3 separate regions of the Homo sapiens genome follow, and regions 2 and 3 are each linked to region 1. Evidence: promoter capture Hi-C in 16 types of primary human blood cells and fetal thymus (Javierre and others, 2016). All regions are on one chromosome and are shown on one strand. The core of a region is centred on a gene start or on the middle of the fragment in contact, and the rest is flanking DNA. Distances in the headings are between cores, read along the strand shown.

What was found. The method cuts DNA at HindIII sites, captures the fragments that hold promoters and counts their contacts. A CHiCAGO score of 5 or more calls a contact.
Region 2: a contact is called between a fragment that was not itself captured here and the fragment with the promoter of KRT23 in region 1, in 10 of 17 cell types (activated CD4 T cells, total B cells, naive B cells and 7 more). The highest score is 8.2, in activated CD4 T cells.
Region 3: a contact is called between a fragment that was not itself captured here and the fragment with the promoter of KRT23 in region 1, in 4 of 17 cell types (naive CD8 T cells, activated CD4 T cells, total CD8 T cells and 1 more). The highest score is 8.0, in naive CD8 T cells.

Annotation. Positions count from the first base shown.
Region 1 is chr17:40,936,137-40,940,879 of GRCh38, forward strand. It overlaps KRT23 (keratin 23), which reads right to left and starts at 1,510. Exons shown (of 9, transcript NM_015515.5): 1 at 1,210-1,510; 2 at 72-817. The coding sequence starts at 467. All of the region lies in intron 1 of LOC107985072 (a long non-coding RNA gene), which reads left to right. The HindIII fragment of the contact is 1,536 bases long and covers 1,064-2,599 here.
Region 2 is chr17:41,450,292-41,454,833 of GRCh38, forward strand. No RefSeq gene overlaps it. Among named protein-coding and RNA genes, the nearest start is that of KRT38, 12 kb to the left of the region's middle. The HindIII fragment of the contact is 1,558 bases long and covers 2,387-3,944 here.
Region 3 is chr17:41,470,679-41,474,919 of GRCh38, forward strand. No RefSeq gene overlaps it. Among named protein-coding and RNA genes, the nearest start is that of KRT32, 5.4 kb to the left of the region's middle. The HindIII fragment of the contact is 4,488 bases long and covers 1-3,505 here.

The DNA.
Region 1 (4,743 bases), core at 260-2,759:
TCATTTTTCCTCCCGAGGGTCCCCTGGCAAAGCAGCCCCATCTGGATCTCCAGGGTCACCCAGCATCTTACCTGCTCCTGCAGGTGTGTGATGTTTTCCTCATACTGGGAATAATCTTTCTTACTGCCAGGATCTCTCTGCTGGTGCCATTTCAGGATGCGGCTTTCCAGCTTCATGTTGGCCTCCTCCAGGGCGCGAACCTTCTCCAGGTAGGAGGCCAGGCGGTCGTTGAGATTCTGCATGGTGGCCTTCCCATTTCCGCCTAGTAGGGGGCTGCTTCTTCCAGAACCCCAAGACCCTCCAGGGGGTGGGCAGCTCCGCGTGGTGAAGGACAGGGAGATGCGGGCTCCCCCCGCACCGCCATGGACGGTGGGAGCCCTGGGGAAGCTCCTGGGCCGGCCCCAGCCACCTCCGGCGCCATGGAAGGAGGCCGAGGGGGTCTGGCTGAAGCTGTGTCCGGAGTTCATGGTCCCATCTGTGTTTGGGACGGGGCTGAGCTCTGCTCCACTCCCTGGCACCGCAGAACTGAGCCGCCCCAGACTGCCCTGGATGGTTTTATGGCCTTTGCTGTGGGAGTTCCCTTCTCTGACAATTGTACCAACAAGATTGTATCATTGTGCAACTTGTGTTTCCTCTTGGTCAATCCCAAAGTGCCCCTGGGCCTTCGCACACTGTTGTTGTTTAGAGCCACATCAATATGACAGTTTGCTTCCTCCCTTCCCCTGGTAACCCGGAGGTGTGGCCCACGACATCAGGCGGGTATTGGGCTCAGGTATCTTTCTAATCTTGCCGTGAAGTTTTTCCATTGTTCATTTACCTGGAATGGGTTAGGTTAAAGTCCACCCAAAAGAAAGCATATTCGATGTAGTATAGATTTCCTTAAAAAAAACCAAAAACCAAAACCAAAACAAAACAACAACAACAGCAACAAAAAACCAGACATTAAACAACAGAGATACACACACCTTTTTCCACCCCCAATAAGCCCCACCTCTAAAGGGAGGGTGAGCGAGCCTGGAGAAGGGAAAGCCAGCTCAGAACAGGATCTCAGGTCCCAGAATAAAGCTTGCTGTGCTGAGGCAGCCGAGAAGGTGGTGAATATCTGATGCCTTTGTGGCAGTCACTGTTTGAAGGAAAGTACTTTCAAAGGACTCGCTCTTAAGAACAAACCCTCAATTATAGATGTAATTAATTAATGAATGACCGAACCTTCCACTTCCAGGGTGCCTTTCATCCCAGCACACCTCAAAACCAAACAACCCTGGCCTGCGCTCAGGATTTCCCTTGGCCCTGGGGGAGGAATGTAGCCGTTGTTAGCAGCCCCGGACCCCGGCTGAGCCTGCCACGGCTGGGCTCTGTGTGTCTGTGACCTGCAGAGGGACGATGGAAAACAGGAAACCTGCCATGGGCTGTCAAATGTGGTTGATGAATCTTATATTTCATCTGCCAAGGTAAAGGTTAGGAATGAATAAAGAAGCAGTCTGGGGGCGGGAGCCACGTGCTAGTTACTGGCAGTTGGATTTAAAGGGGACTTACAAATAAAATATCAGCGCAGGAAGGGCTTCTGGCCTTTCTGGTTCCAAGCCACTAATTGGACAGATGAGGAAAGCTGAGGCCTATGGTGGTGGGGAGGTTAGTGGCAGAGCCAGGGCTAGATTCTTTCTCCACATAGCACTGTTATCTTGGGTTGAATCTTGACAGGTCCTGTACCACACTTCTCTTTCATAATAATAGGACTTGCCAATTGGTGTAGCTCTTTTATATTCTTTATTGAATCCTCACAACTCTTTATGTATCCAGGCAAGGGTTGTTGTCTTCATTTTGCAGACAAAGAATCAGGGTCTCATAGGGATGAATGATCCAGAGCTGATTCGCATGTACAGTGTAATTGAGCACATGAATTCATAGGTGACACTGCCCGAGTCTGTGCTGTCCTCCCTGCCTGGAAAGTCACTCACCCCTACCTCTTCTATAGTTCAAGGGCTACCTCCTTCAACAATCATTTTCTGAATTCTCCTGCATGAGTTGGGTGACCCTCTAGGAGGAAACTGCCTCTTCTGGATGCCGAGGTCCTCCAGAGGGGCAGACACCTTGGCATCCCACCTCATGGTGGAAGCTGGGAGCCCCTAGCCAGGCGCAGCCACCTCCTGTGCCTGGGATGAAGTCCACTCCGTTCTTTCACTCCATTATACTGCATTTGCCACACCCTTCTGAGACCGCAGGCTTCTTGAAAGCAGAGTTTATGTCTTCCATTTTTGAGCACCAAAGTCTGGTTTCTTGGTGGTATTTTGCAAATGTATGTTGACTCAATCATAAACTTTTTAGAGTCAGGATTTTAACACAGGTCTCCTGATGCCATCAACTTCTGCTCCTTTTAGGACTGTGAGTTATAGAACTAGAAAGTAGGAAAACGCCTCTCCTGGGTATAGATTAACCATCCATGAAGGCCAATCTTTTCCAATTACAAATAAAGCCACCCAAAAGCACACCAGCTCTGCTCCTCCCAGTCTTACAACAAAACCTTATCAGGGAAGAGTCTCTGAATATTTTTTATTTCACTGTGCACGAGCTGGAAAAATGAGCCTCCAAGCCTCAGGGAAGCTTGGAGAGTGCTTAGAAAGAGTGCCGACAGTCACTTACATCTCAGATATGAGAAAAAGACAAAAGAGACAAGTGATAAAAATAGAGCAAATGAGGGAACTAGAGAGACTTGTTTGGCGAGTGGTGGCAACCAGTGTTCTGTGGATGTGGACGGTTCCTGGTCATCAAAGTTATGGTCAGCTCTGGTTCCTGTTCGCCTGGACCCAGACTTACCAAGGAAGAAAACATTTACCTTTAGCATGTGCAAGGGCCGGGCTGCACTGCCTTTTTCTAAATTCTCTCACCAGAATCTACAATGAAATTAATGCTTCTCTAATTATTTCAGGCATGTCTGAGTGGCAGTGACTTATCAACCCCATAGATTTGGCCACTGTCTCATTTTATGTCCATGTGTGGGAGTTTTGATTTATAGGACTTATCCTTGAGCAAAAGATTTCTTGTGTCATAGCAGGACCAGGGCCAGGAAAAACTGGTGGTGAGATCTGAGAGCACTGGGGAGAAATAGTCTCTTCTAGTACTGTTATATGATGGTTTCCCATAACTTCTTTTTTTTTTTTTCTCAAGATGGAGTTTTGCTCTGTCACCCAGGCTGGAGTGCAATGGCGCAATCTTGACTCACTGCAACCTCCGCCTCCTGGGTTCAAGCGATTCTCCTGCCTCAGCCTCCCGAGTAGCTAGGATTACAGGTGCGCACCACCATGCCCAGCTAATTTTTTGTATTTTTAGTAGAGACGGGGTTTCACCATGTTGGCCAGGCTGGTCTTGAACTCCTGACCTCATGATCTGCCTGCCTTGGCCTCCCAAAGTGCTGGGATTACAGGCATGAGCCACCCTGCCCAGCCAATTTTCCATAACTTCTTTTTTTTTTTTTTGAGACAGAGTCTCGCCCTGTCGCCCAGGCTGGAGTGCAGTGATGTGATCGTGGCTCACTGCAACCTCCACCTCCCGGGTTCAAGCGATTCTTCTGCCTCAGCCTCCCGAGTAGCCGGGACCACAGGTGCGTGCCACCACGCCCGGCTAATCTTTGTAGTTTTTAGTAGAGACGGGGTTTTACCATGTTGGCCAGGCAGATCTTGAACTTCTGACTTTGTGATCCACCCACCTCGGCCTCCCAAAGTGCTGGGATTATAGGCATGAGCCACCGCACCCGGCCCTGGTTTTCCATAACTTCTAATGTGTAGAGTTCCATTGGATTTTAAAAGAAATGATGCTTTTTTAAAAGCATCATTTTAAAAGCATTAAAAGAAATGATACATGCTTATTATACAAAATCAAGTGATACATGATGGTACAGGAAAAAATATTTAAAAATTCTACCACACACACACAACGTTTGGTGACATTTGGTGAACATCCTTTCAGATACTATGTGTATGTATTGGAAGACAAAAGAATGGCTAGAATAATTGGAAAAATGGGCTCCTGCGACTTATTCCATTTTAGAAAAACTTAAGTCAATTAACACATTTTAATTGGCAAATAAGGAACTAAAATGAATTCACTTTAGTGACATAGTTTTTCTAGAATTTAAAAACGTTCATCACATTCTTTTAAATTTTACATTTTTAAGAAGGATAAAATGGCCTGTAAATGCCAGGATTTTTGGAATCGCAGGACTGGAAAGAAAAGCAACGCTGAGCCACTTGTTGCAGATTTTTGCTTTTAGGGAGGACAACGGCAGAGTGCTGAGCTTGTTTTTGAAGTATTCTTAAAGAACGCGAGGGATGAAGCCTCCAACTGCTTCCTCAGTAAATGGCCAACATTTACTGATCCTTTTGGTTCACAAGCATTTCACTTGCAATATGGTTTCAGGATTTCTTTTGGTATTTCTGTAGAGTGCAAATTGTTCAGAATCAAAATCATTCTGCTTTGCATGATTTTCTGGCTGAAACATTTGTAGTTTTCACATTTGATTCATCTTTCTGATGAACTCAGTTGTCGTCTTGAAAGGGAGTGGGTACTTTGTAAGACAGCTCAGCTGTTGAGTGAATGCATGGGGTTGCATGTGGGTGTGTTGGGGTCAGAAGGGAGCCCTGTCAGAAGGTAGCTGTCATGAACTGGGTACACCGTCTGTTTGTGTGCCTTTTCAAGACAACCATTCCATTAATGAAGCATTTTATAGGCACCCGTTCTTTATAGTAG
Region 2 (4,542 bases), core at 1,916-4,415, 520 kb after region 1:
AATCCTGGCTCTACCAATTGACAGTGTGACTTGGGGCAGTCACTTCCTTTCTCTGAACTTCCACGTCCTCATCTGTAAAATGACCCCTTTGTGAGTCCAAAAGTCCCTGATGTCTAATCCCTCTCTGAGTCCTTGAATCTATCATTTGAATCATTTCCCACAGATAGGAAGAGACAGGGCTCTAGAATATTTTCTCCACATCTTTTCTGTATCTATTGCTGTTTCTTCTCTCTGAGCCTCAGTTTCCTCATCCCTAAAATGAGAGAGTTGGACTGCCGATCCCTGTATGGTCTTTGCCAGCCCTGCTTTTACAAGATTTTGGGACCATGGGTCTTTAATCCAGGGCAGGGGAAAGGTCAGCCAAAGGGGAGAAGACTCTGCCTGGAGGGGAACAGCGCCCAAGTGCAAACCCAAGGAATGGATCTGTCGCTCTTCCTGGTCAACCCCCTGAAATTGGCCTCAGCCATTTCTTAGTTGCTTCTACCTGCTCACGGTTATTTTTCGAACACAGAAACTCCTCCCTTAGGGACTCTTACTGCACCTCCAGCTCTCCCTGGCGCAGACCCACATCACCCAGGAGCCTGTGCAGGCTGTTTATGTTGGTCTCCACTCATTGGCTGGGCCCAGCCAACTCTGACACTTGTCTAAACGTGGCAGATAAGCATCCAAGCCAGTGGCCTGTCTTTCAGCATGCATGCCTCTCCATTTGCTCTTCTCAGGCCAGAGGCACTTGTACATCTGCTTTGATTGGGGGGATGTTTCTATACTAAATAAAATATGAAAATACTTATTGATCTTTCACTATCCACCAGATACTTTAGTGCACAATGAAAGACAGCAATTTGACAGAGCAGGAGCATCGCCATCTTAGACAAACACCACCATTTTAAGTTTCCCTTGATTAAAAAAAAAGTAGCCTAAATCCAGCCCCAAAATGTCAGTCTAATAGCTAATGTCAGCATAAACAGAAATATTCCAACCCTACGATAACCCCCCTCCAACCAGAAACATGCCAACCCCAAGATAGCTTCCCCTCTAACCAAAGACATTCCAACCCCACAATAAATTTTTCCTCACGTAGAAACATTCCAAACCTATGATAAGCTCCCAGCTTCCTAAACCCTTAAATATCCTTAGTCTGTAAGAGAGAACACTCCTAACTGAAATCAGCCAGAAGCCTCTCTCAGGTTTATTCTCCAAAATAAACCTGTCTTTGACTGTTGAGCCACTTTTCATGTTTCTTTCTTCTTTCTTTAACTCTTACACAATTAATACTACATGCTTAGGTAGAATGTGGTTTGGGTCTCAATGCCATCCTATGCCAGGTGTACCTTTGAGCAAGTTTCTTTCTCTGAGCCTCAACATCCTCATCTGTAAAATGAGGGTAACAATTCTTAGCTCACAAGGTTGTTGTGAAGATGGAATAAACTACATTCAGCACTTTGGTGTAGTCTTAAACATTGTGAACACTCACTAATGCCACTGTGACTGTTGAGACCTAACCCTGTCCTTCAGGAGCTGACTTAATTCTTGATTAGGGCTCAATCTTAATCAAACACATCTTAAATTACCCCTAAAATTCTTTGGGACTGAATCTTTTTATTAATACTTCTTAGGTTGGTGGAAACATTTCCTTGGAGGGATTCTTTTCAAAGGCTGCCCCTCCTTTGCTTCCTCCACAGAGACCTGTACCTGACACGAAAGAGATGGACAGAGTACCAGGGAGCAGCAGTTCCCAGCTCCTGTCAGACTCTCTCTGTCCTAAAGTTGTCACAGCTATTTTCACATTGTCCACCTGGACAGCCAACCAAGCATTCCCTACCCTCCTGGGTGAGATCTGAGAATGAGAAACACCATGCTTCACAAGGATGCTCTCCATGGAATTCTCCCCAGGCCCTAAAATGAATGAAAAAAAATGTGATCTGAGCCACATGGGGACGTTTCCATCTTTCCTTATGGTGGATTTTTAAGCATCAAGTATCCAAGGGTTTGCTCCCATCTGTAACGAAACTAGCTGCGCTCTGGGATACAGATGGGGTTTCACTTCTCACTCTACTGTGGGCTCCATTGGTCAGGTCTGGGCAGCAGTGAGGGGGTTGAAGGGATAGCCCCTTGGACTGAAACCCAGCTCTGCACAGCCAAGACATGCTTCTGGTTCACTCACCCTCCCTTTTTCTCCTCATCCACTTCCTCAAAGGCACCAACACAGTGGTTAAGTGGACCTGTGTCACGCAGCTTGGCAGTTTACCAGCTCTGAGACTTTAGGCATAGCTTCTAACCCCCTGAAGCTTAAAATCTTCCCATCTGTAAAATGGAAAACGTGATTCTATCTGCTTCATCAAATCCTTGTAAGGATTAAATGCAACCAAGCATATATGTTTAGCAAAGCTTCTGACATCTAGTGAGCTCTTAATAAAGGTGCTCTATTCTTTTTAGATAAAATAGAAATAATAATATCCACCTTAGAGGATTGCTGAAATGGTTCAAAGAAAAAAGGTATGTGAAAATTCCCAGTTCAGGTTTGACATTTAGTAGAATCAAGGATGATTTCAGAAATATTATAACCACTGTTGGCAGCAATCTAAAAGGAGATGTGGAAACGGCCACAGAGACAGACTGCTACATCCCAGCTGAATATCAGCACTTAATGGAAAATACTAAATAAATGTGATTAATTTTTTAAAAATGAAGTTAGGTTGTTCATCCTTTCCACCATCTTGTACAGAACAGGAACTCCAAAACAAATAGAAAGATGAGAATGCCACAAGAGACGTTCAGATATGCGGCTGTGGGTTATTCCATGGAAGGCAAAATCCATCCCAGGGGGATTAGCTTCTAGAGAGGATTCCAGGAGGTGGGGAATATCACCTGGGTTTTGAAGCCCAACTAGAATTTGGCCATGCAAAGATGAGAAAGAAAGCACTACACATGTGAACAAACATTTTGTGAGTGACAACGCAGTTTGACAGAAGCATAGGGCAAGTGACAAAGCAGTTTGATAGAAGCACAGGATGTTTGCAGAAGATTAGAAAGAGGTAAGCTACAAAAAAAAGTGAGGCTGAGAACATGGCAGCCTTGAATGCCAGGCTAAAGAGCTGAGGCTTCATTTTGTAGGCACTGTCTGCTCCCCAGCACCCAGCGATGCAATCACTCATTGCTGGTGCTCAATAACTAGTGAGTGAATGGTGGCATGTCCTTAAATAAGGCAGGATCTGGATTGTGAAGAAATAAATCCATATCCCACTCACAGTCCTCTCATTGCAGACATCAGCAATGATGCTTGTTGAATGGAACTGGTTGTAGAACCAAGTGGTTGGGCCCTTGACATCACAGTTTATTTCTGGCACCTTCAATCCATCTTTATGAACATTCATGGACTGTCATCCCCCCAGGCAACCCCTCCAATTCTCCCATCACCAATCCTCAGCCCTCTCTTTCCATGCCACTGACACCAGAGCTCAAGGCCTCATCTTACTTTTTGTTGGAGCTCCTTAATGGTCTCAAAGTGTGAGCAGTAATTGGAGCATATGTCAGGGCACTGCCGTTTGCTCCACTGCTGGCTCTCAGCACCACCCCTGCTTCTCATTCTCCTGCTCCAACTGCTGCAACTTCTGCAAGCAGTTGGCCAGGCACTCACTTAAGAACTGCATGATCCCTTTCCCACTGCTGCTGAGGATGTCTTCACTGAACCAGCCACAGGTGCCCATACTGGCAGGGATGTTCCTGGTCCCTGGCAGAGGACAGGCAGAGTGACTGCTGGCAGGGCCAGGCTGGACTGACTGTGAGCCACAGGTTCTAAGGAGATGGCTACTAGGTTGGTGACTCTCTTACAGGTGGGCCCCAGTCTTAATACTGGGATCTACAGACATTGGGTACAGAGTTTCTAGAGTGGTTTCTGGCCACAGCCTGTCTGGAGCAAGGAGGCTTCAAATGGCTCTTGCCAAAGCTTGAGGAGCAGGGATTTCTGCTTTAACTAGAAGCCATGGTCCTAGACAGTTGAGTTGCAGATTGGTGACAAGGGCCAGGTGCTCAGGTGTGAGTGTTTCCTCACCCAGAGCTTTTATTCACCTGCCATAGGAGCAGATGTGATACACAAGCTTTCCCCCAATGAATCCTCATTTGTTCTGCCATCAGAACAACCCATCAGCAGTTATTCAGTCCTCAGAAGTAGCTCCCCACTTTATGAAAGAAAGGGCTGACTTTGGACTTCTTGTTACTGCCTTCTGTTGTGAAAAGAAATGTTAAATGTTTTCTCTTTAGAGATGCCCCATTGAAAAGTTAGACTTTGTTCCTTGAGTGACTATCTGGCCTCTCTCTAGGAATGGCATTGGCTCTAAGATGAATCGTCCTCTCCACTGACCTTCAATACCCAAAAAAGTAAAATTCTCTGATAAGAGCCTCAGGAATCCCTAAAGAGCAATAGAGCAAAGACTGCTAAGTTATTAGAACTAAAGAAAACTTCCAAGTACTAATTCAACCTTTCGTGCTTCAGAGACCAGAGAAGGACAGTGAGCTCCCCAGGGATGCCAAGCAAGTCAGATA
Region 3 (4,241 bases), core at 12-2,511, 530 kb after region 1:
CAGGCTCATCCCAGACTGGCTGAATCAGAAACTCTGAGGCTGGGGCTGGGATGCAGCAGCCTGTGTTTAGCATGTCCTTCAGGTGGTTTGGAGACCCACTGAGATAGAGGAAGATACAGGCATACCTCAGAGATAGTGCATGTTCAGTTCTAGACCACCACAATAAAGCAAATGTAACCATAAAGTGAGTCACACAAACTTTTTGGTTTTTCTGTGTATGTAAACATTATATTTACACTATACTATAGTCTATTAAGTGTACCATAGCATTATGGCCTAAAAACAATGTATATAACTTAATTTTAAAAATGCTTTATTGCTAAAAATGCTAAGGATCATCTGAGCCTTCAGCAAGTTATAATCTTTTTGCTGGTGGAAGGTCTTGCCTCAATGTTGATGGCTGAGGACTGATCAGGGTGATGATTGCTGCAAGTTAGTGTGGCTGTGGCAATTTCTGAAAATGAGACATCAGTGAAGTTTGCCGCATCAGTTGACTCTTCCTTTCATGAAAGATTTCCCTGTAGCATGTGATGCTGTTTGATAGCATTTTAACAGTAGAAATTCTTTCAAAACTAGGGTCAGTCCTCTCAAACCCTGCCACTGCCTTATTAACTAAATTGATGTAGTATTCCAAATCCTTTGTTGCCATTTCAGTGATGTTCACAGCATCTTCACCAGGAGTAGTTTCCATCTCAAGAAACCACTTTCTTTGTTCATGAATAAGAAGCAGTTCCTCATCCGTTCGTTTTGCCATAACATGGCAACAATTCAGTCACATCTTCAGGCTCCAATTCTAATTTTAATTCTCTTGCTGTTTCCAACACATCTATAGTTACTTCCTCTGCTGAAGTCTTAAGCCCCTCAACATCATACATGAGAGTTGGAATCAACTTCTTCCAAACTCCTGTTAATGTTGATATTTTGACCTCCTCTCTTGAATCACAAATATTGACATATAGAATAGTGAATCCTCTTCAGAAGGTTTTCAATTTACTTTGCCCAGATCCATCAGAGGAATCACTCTGTATGGCAGCTATAGCCTTATGAAATATATTTCTTAGGTAATAAGACTTGAAAGTCAAAATTAGTTTTTGATCCATGGGCTGTGGAATGGATGTTGTGTTGGCAAACACAAAAACATTAATCTCCTTGGACAGCTCCATCAGGGCTCTTGGGTGATCAGATGCATTGTCAATGAGCAGAAATATTTTGAAAGAAACCTTTTATTCTAAGCAGTAGGTCTCAACAGTGGGCTTAAAATATTCAGTAAACCATGTTATAAACAGATGCACTGTCGTCCAGGCTTTGTCGTTCCGTTTGTAGTGCACAGGCAGAAAAGATTTAGCATCATTCTTAAGTGCCCTAGGATATTCAGAATGGTAAATGAGCATTGACTTCCCACTTGAAGTCATCAGCTGCATTAGCTCCTAGCAAGAGAGTCAGCCCATCCTTTGAAGGTTTTGAAGGCAGACTCCTCCTGTCTAGCTATGAAAGATGCCGCCTCCCTAAACTTCATCATTTCTAGCTTTTTATTTAAAGGGAGAAACCTGCAACTTTTCCTTTCACTTGAACTCTTAGAAGCCACGGTAGGGTTATTAATTGGCCTAATTTCAATATTGCTGTGTCTCAGAAAATAGGTAGACCCAAAATAGGGAGAGAGATGGGGGAATGGCCAGTTGGTGGAGCCATCAGAACGCACGCAACGTTTATCAGTTAGGTTCCCCATCTTATCTGGGCATGGTTTGGTGCATCCCAGAACAATTACAACAGTAATATCAAAGATTACTGACCACAGATCACCATAACACATACAATAATGAAAAAGTTTGGCCAGCCGCAGTGGCTCACACCTGTAATCCCAGCACTTTGGGAGGCTGAGGTGGGCAGATCACTTGAGGTCAAGAGTTCGAGACCAGCCTGGCCAACATGACGAAACCCCATCTCTACTGAAATTACAAAAATTAGCCAGGCGTGGTGTGCCTGTAATCCCAGCTACTTGGGAGGCTGAGGCACGAGAATTGCTTGAACCCAGGAGGCAGAGGTTGCAGTGAGCCGAGATCACGCCACTGCACTCCAGCCTGGGCAGACAGCCAGATTCTGTCTCAAAAAAAAAGAAAAAGAAAAAATTTGTATTGTGAGAATTACCAAAATGTGACACAGAGACACATAAGCACATGCTGTTGGAAAAATTAGCACCAACAGACTTGCTCTAGGCAGGATTGGCACAAAACTTTAATTTGTAAAAAAAAAAAAAAAAAAAGAAAGAAAAAAGAAAAAAAAACGATATCTGGGAAGTATAATAAATTGAAACTCAATAAATCGAAGTGTGCCTGCATATATTTTAACAGCTGTCACCAGAATTCATCTTGCAGGAAAAAAAATGTCTTTACTTGGGAAACTACATTAAGAAGATCTTGGGTTAAAAGGTGGGACCCTAATGCCTTGATTTGGCTGGTAAGACATCAGAGGGTGAAAGGAGAGAAGGATTTGAAGTTCACAGGACAATCCTGGAAGGAAGGAATGAGGAGGAGAGAGACAGGAACCAGGAGCAGGGGCTCCAGGATGATGCTGAGAGGCTGTCGCTGTGAGGTGCAGTCCCAAATGCCAGCGTGAGCAGAGTTTTCCGTTGTGAAGGAAAGACCAGGTTTCATATAAAAGCAGATTGAGGCCAGGTGCAGTGGCTCACACCTATAATCCCAGCACTTTGGGATGCCCAGGCGGGCAGATCACGAGGTCAGGAGATCAAGACCATCCTGGCTAACACGGTGAAACCCCGTCTCTACTAAAAATGCAAAAAAATTAGCTGGGCTTGGTGGCGAGCACCTGTAGTCCCAGCTACTTGGGAGGCTGAGGCAGGAGAATGGCGTGAACCCGGGAGGAAGAGCTTGCAGTGAGCCGAGATTGCGCCAGTGTACTCCAGCCTGGGCCACAGAGCGAGACTCCGTCTCAAAAAAAAAAAAAGAGCGGATTGATAAAGGTAGTAGCAGCAGCATCCAAAGTCACAGAAGACCACAGTTCCAGGCAATATGCCAGATCTGGGGTATGTCGTGAAGATGGAGAAGTAGGGTCTAGGAAAGGTAGCCACAGAGAAAGTGGGGCACTGTCAGTTCTCAGGCCCAGGTCTGGCTGATCCAAAGACTTTCCACTGTACCCCAACCTCTCTGGGGCCAGAGCAAACTATCAGGAAAATAAGTTTAGGAAGAGAAGAGAAAGGGATGCAAAGAATCCAGGAGGAAGGGCCTGTTTCAACAAAAGCAGATAGGATGTGTGTCACAGCCTGGGCCAGCACTGTCTCCCTCCATTCATTCCCCCGCAGAAAACCAGAGGCTCCTTCTTTGGAAAAAAAATAAAACTCCAGAGAAAAGACTTACAGAAACTGAACTGAGGTGGTTGTACCATGCAAAAAGCCGGTTTTCCAACCTGCCCATCCACGTAGCACCTTCTATCAGCTTTTTAGTGTCTCGTCATAAAATATAAACAAAAGGATGACCAGATACTTGAAGGAAGCTTCCAATATTAAAGACAAAGTAAAACAAGCAAACAAACAAAACAGTAAAAAAGGAAATTGAAGAAAACAGAAATAATGCAGAATCCAAAACTGTATATATATATATTTTTTAAATAACCTCAGAGTGGGAGAGATGTATATACATATAGCAGTTATAGCCATGAAACAAGAACTAAATGTTATAAAACAGGAGCAAACAGAGAAAAAAAATGACTTTTTGGAGAAAAAAATATAACAAATTTAAAATGCAGTTCAAAAATTTGAAGTCGAAAGAGAGAGAAATGCCAGAACTGAGAAAGTCAAAAGCATAATAGGGACCAGACCTGGGGGTGCTAGGGTCTATGTCAGAGTTGCCCTGAGCCCTCTGCACTCCCAGCTGTGTTGCCAAAAGTTCCTCTACCTGACAAATGACCTCTCAACCCTGGCTGCATGTTCAAATCACCCAGAGAGCTTTCAAAAATCCCAGTACCGAGTCATATCCCAGACCAACTAAAGCAGAATTTTGGGGGGTCAGAGCAGTCATCGGTATTTTTTAAAGCCCTCCAGGTCATTCCAATGTACAGGCAAGGTTGAGAACTTGTAGTTGAATGGAAACAGCGTTATAATTAAAAAGCACAAGCAAATGAAGTAAATAATAATTAGAAGTAGGATTACAGATGATTTAGTTAGCTACATCTTGGAGGAAGCTAGGATGGGTTTAGAAAGGATTTGTGCCACAGAGAATGCCATAAAG